2 separate regions of the Homo sapiens genome follow, and region 2 is linked to region 1. Evidence: promoter capture Hi-C in 16 types of primary human blood cells and fetal thymus (Javierre and others, 2016). All regions are on one chromosome and are shown on one strand. The core of a region is centred on a gene start or on the middle of the fragment in contact, and the rest is flanking DNA. Distances in the headings are between cores, read along the strand shown.

Region 1 (4,428 bases), core at 1,370-3,869:
TGGAATTTATGCAGTTTTAAAAATAAATTACTCCATATGACATGATTTCCAAGATGTTATTATGTGAATATAGAAGAATTAGAAGTGTACTATCCTAACATTTAAGTAAAAAGGAAAAATAAGAAACACATCTATTCTGTTAAAAAAAAGTGGTAATGAAAATAATAAAATTAGTTACATAAAGGTGTTAGGTGGCAACACTGTGGAATTGGTTTAGGGGTAGGAAGGAGGGGAGTGGCACTTCTCTGAGAATAATATGTGGTAGAGCATTGACTCATGGGAACATGTTGATGACTGACATACCCAATAATATAAAATCAAGAATGAGATTTCTTTGTAGATAAACTAGGAAAGTGAAAATCATAGAATAACAAATTAACCTAAATGTATTTCAAATCAATAACATAAACAGTCTAAAGGTGACAGCAAGAAGTAATTTAAGCAACTTATTAAACAGTACAGTGTTTGACTATATATCCTCAGTCTAAAGACAAAAAGAACTATAAAAAATGTTGAACTCTACTTTTGCATTGTTTTTTACAATGATATGAATTAGTAACTCTGACACTGCATGATGCGTATGCAATGGTCTTAATGTTTGTGGCCCACCAAAATCCATATATTGTAATTTTTACCCTCAATGTGATGGTAATAGGAGGTGGGGCCTTTGGAGGGTGATTAGGTCACGGGATGAATACCCTTATAAAAAATGCCAGAAGGAGCTTGTTTGTCACTTCAACCAAATGAAGACACAGCAATATGGTGCTAACTATGAACAAGAAAGTGGCCAACTACCTGACACAAAATCTGCCAGTGCTTTGATCTTGGATCCCAGTTTCCAGATCTGTGAAGAATAGATTTCTGTTGCTTAAAAGCCGGCCGGGCGTGGTCGCTCACGCCTGTAATCCCAGCACTTTGGGAGGCCGAGGTGGGCGGATCACAAGGTCAGATCGAGACCATCCTGGCTAACACGGTGAAACCTCTTCTCTACCAAAAATACAAAAAAATTAGCCGGGCATGGTGGCGAGCACCTGTAGTCCCAGCTACTCGGGAGGCTGAGACAGAAGAATGGCATGAACCTGGGAGGCAGAGCTTGCAGTGAGCCGAGATCGCGCCACTGCACTCTAGCCTGGGCGACAGAGCAAGACTCCGTCTCAAAAATAAAATAAAATAAAATAAAATAAAATAAAATAAAATAAAATAAAATAAAATAAAAGCCAGGCAGGCTATGATATTTTGTGACTAAAAAATATTGGTACTGAGAGGTGGGCTTGCTGCTGCAACAAATACCTAAAAATGTAGCAGTCTTTGGAACTATGTAATGGATAGAGTCTAGAAGAGTTTTTACATGTATGCTAGGAAAAGCCTACATTGCCATGAATGGACTGATAAGGACAATTCTGGTTAGCGCTCAGAAATAGAGAATAAGAACTGTAGAGAAAACATCAATCTTGTTAGAGCATACCTAGGTAGTCATGATCAGAATGTTGGTAGAAATATGGACAGTAAAGGCCATTCTGAAGACCTCAGTCAGAAATGTTGAACATGTTATTGGAAGAGAAGAGAGCTTCTTGTTATAAAGGGACAAAGAATTTGGCTGAATTATATTCAGGTGCTAGTGTTTTATGGAAGGTAGAATTTGTGAATGATATAATTGTTTATCTGAATTAATTTCTAATCAAAGTGTTGAAGTTGCTTGAATCATCTTGACTACCCGTAGTGAAAGGCACGAAGTGAGGAATGACTGAAATAATTATTAATTAAAAGGGAAACAGAACTAAAATTTTTAAAAGTTTACAGCCTATCTACTTTGGAAAAAAAAAAAAACAGGAAACCTGAAGAATACAAGGGTATGGTTAAGCAACTAACTAATTCATGAATTTAGTATGGATTGGCCATGTCAACTGAAGCCAGGACCTATTGTCCAAGACAATGGAAGAATGACCCCAAAGGCATTTCACAGATTATGGCAGCTTCTCCTCCCATCACAGGCCCAGAGTGCAAGGACCTGGGGGACAGAAAGGGCCTTTGATGCCAGATATACCCTAATATATTAGGCACAGTTTCCTGCCTACTACGATTGAGCGTGTCAATAAATTTTTATCTCTTGGGAGGGCAGAACAGAGCAAGGATACAGCTGTAACTGGTTTAGAAATAGCAGTCACTCAATTTTCAGAGAAGTGTTCCTCATACTGTGGTTGGCACAGTCACTTTATCTAAAGAAAACCATGAAAAGTATTCTTTTTTAGTTTAGAAAAATTGATATAGAACATGAGACTCCATTTTTTTAAAATAAAAATATAGGTTGATAGGCCAGAATTCACAGGTCCACCTGCCTGAGCCAAAATTCTCACGCCTCCACAGAGCAAATGGACTCCATTTCCCAAGATACCAGCGAAACGCCTGCGGGAGTCTAATTGCCCGGTCGATGCGCAGGAAATTTGGCTCCCGCAGGCGTTTCGCGAGTAGCTTGGGAGGCGTGGGAATTTTGGCCCAGGCAGGAGGACCTGTGAATTCTGGGAAGTGGAGTCCATTTGCTCTGTGGAGTCGTGGGAACTTTGGCTCAGGCAGGCGGATTCGGGGGATTCTGGGAAGTGTAGTCCAGACGCCTGTGGCATCATCGACACTTCCGGTCTCCGAGCAGGACACTGCTACTTAACAAGGTGGTTTGAGCCAAGTATGTGTCTTGCGGGTCTTTGCGAAAGTGAACCAGTTATTAGGGGCGCCTAACGACCTGGGGGGTCAACTAAGGGGGTAAGAAGCCCTGGAGAAGACCTGAGGTTTGGAGATGCGAGGGGTGGGAGGGAAGTTTCGTTGCCGTCGATGGAGCCTTCTGGCGTTGGGGGCTGTACTCAGGTCCACCGGAGGAGTCGTCGGGGGTTCGGGGGGGGCGGGGAAGAACTCTGTCTAGTCTTGTGTGCCTGTTTAGAGGGTTTTCCAGGTGTTTGACCTCGTTCAGTCCGCCTCCCTCCACTCTTAAGTGTGCGACCTCTTTCTCGCGATATAACGTGGGGTGTTACTTAATCTCCCTGTACCTCCCATTGCCGTTTTTTAAATGAGGATTTCAGGACCATCCTGATAGAATTGTTTTAGGAGTTGAAAGTTGTGGTATAAAACAAAGACTTAACAGCTCCTGTCACTTGGTGTCCTGTTAATTTCCCGCGAAGTGGTCAGGTGCCCGGGTGGGGTCAGAGCTCCAGCTGCTCCGGCCCTTCTCTTGGAGCCCGGCAGGGCTCTGGATGATCCCGGACGCCTCTGACCTCTTTTTAGGAAGGCGTGGGTTGCATCCACGTTTCACGAAGGGAGAGGAGCATTTAACTTGTATCCGGGACGGCGACGCAGAGTGTTTGACAGCTTTCTCCTTCCCCAGCCTGACTTTTCTAAAAGAGCTGCAGGGAGGGACTTGGCTACTGAGGACAAAGCTGTCTACACGAGTGGTCTTTGGCTTTTCTCTTTTTAAAAAAAAGTTATTTATTTTGTTAGTCTGTTTTTATTATTGTTATTATTTGAGAATGAGGTTTGCTCTGTCTCCCAGGCTGGAGTGCAGCAGTGGCGCGATCTTGGCTCACTGCAACCTCCGCCTCCTGGGTTCAAGCGATTCTCTGTCCTCAGCTCCGGAGTAGCTGGGATTACAGGCATGCGTCACCATGCCCGGCTAATTTTTGTATTTTTAGTAGAGACGGGGTTTCACCATGTTGGCCAGGCTGGTCTCGAACCTGTGGTCCTAAGTGATCCGCCTGCCTCGGCCTCCCAAAGTGCTGGAATTACAGGTGTGAGCCACCGCGCCGGGCCGGTTTTTTCTTTTACAGAGATGTTCACCTCAACCAAGAGTGTATAGGATGTGTCCTTGGGCATGGGTGTTGATAATAATTAAACCTTAATTGGTAACTTAATTCTAAGGGCTTTATGGAAATAAATACATTTACGCCACACCATGGCTCTGTGGAAAGGTATTGCTCTTTTTCTTTTTTTTTTTTTTTTTTTTTTCCTGAGACGGAGTCTCGCTCTGTCGCCCAGGCTAGAGTGCAGTGGCGCGATCTGGGCTCAGTGCAATAGGCCGCCTCCCAGGTTCAGGCGATTCTCCTGCTTCAGCCTCCTAAGTAGCTGGGATTACAGGTGCGCACCACCACGCCCAGCTAATTTTTGTATTTTTAGTAAAGATGGGGTTTCACCGTTTTGGTCAGGCTGGTCTGAAACTCCTGACCTCGTGATCCGACCGCCTTGGCCTCCGAAAATGCTGGGATTACAGGCGTGAGCCACCGCGCCCGGTCGCTCTTTTCCATTTTAAATATGGGAGTGAGACACCTGGTGCTTAGTTCCCAGTAGAATGAGGTACAGCTGGAGCTGGAACCTAGGCAGTTTGGGTCAGAGCCTGAGTTGATCATCCCTTGGATACATTTTCATTGAGGTAGAGGAACTAGCTGGAAT
Region 2 (4,436 bases), core at 770-3,269, about 14 Mb after region 1:
ACTCTTCTCCTAGATCCTTGGCCACTTGCCAGATCATCCTTGCTCTCACACCCTACCATAGCCACCTCTCTCCCATACCTGTCTTTGTGATTCCCACCATGACCAACCATGTCCCCAAGCAGGAGAGCCAGTAGTGACCCCCAACCTTCCTTCCCTGGGCTGGTAATAGCATTACCAAAGTGATCACGATTCCACCTCCTAATTGTGTCCCAAGCTATACCCCTAGGCAAGTAGTGGCCACCACCTTTTAAATGTCTCTATCCTGAATCCCTCAACACAGTTCTAGTCCTGTAGGATAAACTATCCACTTCATGTCTAAACTAACTGTTCTTTGAAACATCTCAGACTCTAAAAGATGTCCCATTGGGCCATGTTCAGATGATTTTTATTAAAAAATTTTAAAAATAAAGATGGTCCATATCAAAATTTCTGATTATCTCTAGAGATAACTGACTCTACTACCAACTTTACAATCCTCGCTAGTGGAGCTTCCATATTTCCAGCTGCTAAACCCAAACACCTTGCTTTTACCCCTAAATCCTACTTTTCTATCTCAAAATCCAGGCTTCCCTACTTAAAAAAACTGATCTAAAATCCAACTACCACCTCCACAGCCACCACACAAGTCCAGCCACCAGTAACACTCACCTGGACTACTGCAGCAGCCTTCTTCACTATCTTCCTATCTCATACCTCACACTCAGCCTGTTCTCTCAGCTTGGCCACACACAGGGAACCTGATGAGACCTGGATCAGATCACATACCTCCTCTGCCCCCAAACTGTCATTGCTCATCACACACTCCAGAAGAAACACCCGACAACTGACAGCCATTTTTTGTCTGATTCCTGCATCCCAGCTTTCAGTTCCCATGAGAAAGAAAACAGCTGTAGTTTCCTAAACCAGCTCAGCCTGACCTTCAAGCACTTGCTCATCTGGTATCTAAGCCTGAGACAACGTTCCACACCTTACTTTACTGGTTCCCAGCAATAGGAACCATTCTATACCAGCTTCCAGCCTGGATGTATGACCCTGGGACTGATGTTTGTTCAGGATTCCTAGAACCAAGGACCCAAAGAGTGCCAAGAGAAGAGTCCCAGAACACAATCTCAGAGACAAACACTGGGGTCAGCATCAGTGAGGGCCCGAAACACTCTCCACTCACCTGTGTAAAGCCCATAAGTTTAGCTTCTGCAGTCACGGGAACCTGCGGGAAGAGGAAGGCTATGAGAGGCAGGTAACTATGGTGGAAGCTCCATGGGCTGATGCCTCCTTGTTTCCCTGCGCAGCCCTGGAGCCAGGTGACTTGGTGATGACTAAATTATTATTGCTCCTCAGTTCCGTGTGACTCTTACCTGCTGTGGGACCTTGCACAAGGACTCAACTTCCCTGTGCCTCGGTGTTATCCCCCTTCCAGGCTGTTCCAACTCTGAGTAACTTTAGAAAAAATTTGAAAAGTCTAACTCAGACCATGTGCCTCGTCTGTTCACAACCACCCATGGCTCTCAGCGTCTTGAAAAGAAAGAGCCTCATTTTACCATTCGGGCGTGAACGTTACTGGCTCAATCGTCCCAGCAAGATTCACAGAAACCGGCCCCTCCGCCTGCCACACCCTCCACAGCCCACGACACCAGGCTTGTAAATGGGAGCCCCACCCGCGAGGGCCTCATAGTCCTGGACTCTAGGGTCGGGCTGCAGGGACGCAAGCAGGCGCCCCTCATGCAGGGTGTTGGATTTCCGGCGGAGAGGGCAGGTGAGGCCCGGGAGACGCAGCACTCACCGAAGTCGAATCCCTAAGCACGGCCGCCGCCATCGGATTGTGAGCGGAGCGGGGCCGGGAGCGGCGGGCGACCCGGGGCGGGAACCCAGGCACGGCTGCCACCAGCGCCAGCGACCCACCGGCTGATGCGCAGCGGGGCGACCCCCGCTCTGTGCCGGAGGCAGCGTTTCTAACTCAGGCGGCGTGGGCCGAGGTAGAGAACCACCAAAATTACCATCTCGGAGCGGTGCCGGAAGTCCCGCCTTACCGTATGCAACAAACGGAGACAGGTCCGTTCCTGAACGTTGATTGGCTCCGCGTCTTTGCAGCTTGGCGCTCGGCATTATGGGTAATGTAGTTCTCAGAAGCCCAGGGTTCCGGTGCCCTCCCTGAGATTCACCCGGAACAAGGGCTAAGCGGCCCGCGGAGGGCGCTAGGAAAAGGCGCGACACCAAGAGCGAGACAGGGACTTGCTGCTCCTTAAAGGGGCCGCTGGCCGATTTCCGCAGTCCCATACCCACTGAAGGGAGTGTCTGGGTTAAGATAAGAGGTTGTAGAGACCAAGGTTCTTATTAAGCAGATGAAGCTTTCACGCAGCAGGCTTCAGAGGGAATAGATTGTAAATGTTTCCTATCAGACTTTGAAAGGTGCCAGACTCTTAATTCTTTCCTGGACCATGAAAATAAAAAAACCCTGGAGAGGAAAGGGGATTCTCAGCAAAATGCAGATTCCACAAGACACACCTTTGCAGGGCCTCTTCAAAATATGTCAAATAAATAAAGTTTAGAGTAAAATACTTCAATTCCTTTCAGGGCCTGCTATCTGTCATGTAATGCTATACTACAATCAGGCTGGAATTCACTGTCTTATTGCTACAAGAAGTCTTAAAATCTCTGTTTTAATGTTAATGCTGGTCAGTTGTGCCTGAATTCCAAGGGGAGGAGGGCAAGTCTGACCCTCACTTCCCATCACGTCCTGAACTAGTTTTTCAGATTAACTTTGGAATGCCCTTGGCCAAGAGGAAGGATGCATTCAGATGGTTGGGGGGCTGGGAATTTTATTTTTGGTTTACACTTCTCATGCCTCTTGGAATCTCTGAACCACATACAACGGCCATTTGTTGAGTAAAAGCTTCCAATGCAGGAAACTGTCTCTTTCAGCCTCATGCTATACACCATTAAAACAGTAATTACTGGCAATAAGACTGGGCTTTCTTAAACATACAGGATCTCACAGACCATAAGCCTATGATCCTTCATACCAGCTGCCCATAATACTTTTGGTTTTGGAAGCAGCACCCCATAACCTCAGCATGGCTACCAAGGCCTCCTTAAGACAGGGTAGAATGAATAAGATCTAGTATTTGATAGCACAGTAGAGAGACTACAGTCAACAGTAATTTATTGTACATTAAAAACAACTAAAAGAGTATTATAACTAGAATGTTTGTAACACAAAGAAATGATAAATGCTTGTGTACCCTGATATGATTATTACACATTGTATGCCTGTATCACAATATCTCACGTATCCCATAAATATACATACATACTATGTACTCATAAAACTAAAAATTTTAAAAGACAGATAAATGGCAAGCAGGTAGATGAAAACATGCTTAACATCATTGATCACTATAAAAATGCAAATCAAAACTACAATGAGATATCATCTCACTCTAGTTAAAATGACTTTTATGCAAAAGACAGGGAATAATGAATGCTGGCCAGGACAGAGAGGAAAGGGAAACTTCATACGCTGTTGGTGGGAGTGTAAATTAGTAAAGCCACTATGGGGAACAGTTTGGAGGTTCCCCACAGAAGTAAAAATAGAATTACCATATGATACAGTTTACACCACCCAGAAAAGAAATCAGTATATCTAATAGAGATCTGCACTCCCATGTTTATTGCATCACTATTCACAACAGCCAAGATTTGGAAGCTACCTAACTGTCCATAGATAAATGGATAAAGAAAATGTGATGCATATACACAATGGAGTAGTATTTAGCCATAAAAAAAGAATGAGATCCCATCAATTGCAAGAAGACGGGTGAAATTGGAGGAAATTATGTTAAGTAAAATAAGCCAGGCACAGAAAGACAAACTTCACATGTTCTCACTTATTTGTGGGAGCTAAAAATTTAAACAATTGAACTCCCGGAGATTAAGCTTAGAAGGATGGCTACCAGAGGCTGAGAAGGATAGCAGAAATGGAAGGGAAAGTGGGGATAGTTAATGGGTGCAAAAATATAGTCAGATAGAAGGAATAAGACATAGTATTTGATAGCACAACAAGGTGACTACAGTCAACAACAATCTATTGTAGAATTAAACATAACTCACCGGGCATGGTGGCTCACGCCTGTAATCCCAGCACTTTGGGAGGCCGAGGCGGGCAGATCACAAGGTCAGGAGATCGAGACCATCCTGACTAACACGGTGAAACCCCATCTCTAAAATCAAATCTCTATAATAAATCTCTAAAAATACAAAAAATTAGCCGGGCGTGGTGGTGGTCACCTGTAGTCCCAGCTACTAAGGAGGCTGAGGCAGGAGAATGGCGTTAACCCGGGAGGCGTTGCTTGCAGAGAGCTGAGATCGCGCCACTGCACTCCAGCCTGGGCAACAGAGCAAGACTTCGTCTCAAAAAAAAAAAAAAAAAAAAAGAATTA

What was found. The method cuts DNA at HindIII sites, captures the fragments that hold promoters and counts their contacts. A CHiCAGO score of 5 or more calls a contact.
Region 2: the fragment with the promoter of ZNF416 here is called in contact with the fragment with the promoter of ZNF155 in region 1 in 2 of 17 cell types (non-activated CD4 T cells and total CD8 T cells); the score reaches 16.0 in non-activated CD4 T cells.

Annotation. Positions count from the first base shown.
Region 1 is chr19:43,981,569-43,985,996 of GRCh38, forward strand. It overlaps ZNF155 (zinc finger protein 155), which reads left to right and starts at 2,620. Exons shown (of 5, transcript NM_198089.3): 1 at 2,620-2,677. It also overlaps a transcript of ZNF221 not described here. RefSeq lists a silencer at 2,317-2,516. The HindIII fragment of the contact is 8,717 bases long and covers 1-4,428 here.
Region 2 is chr19:57,576,892-57,581,327 of GRCh38, forward strand. ZNF416 (zinc finger protein 416) reads right to left here and starts at 2,020. Exons shown (of 4, transcript NM_017879.3): 1 at 1,781-2,020; 2 at 1,166-1,207. The coding sequence starts at 1,813. RefSeq lists a silencer at 1,710-1,929. The HindIII fragment of the contact is 6,514 bases long and covers 1-2,343 here.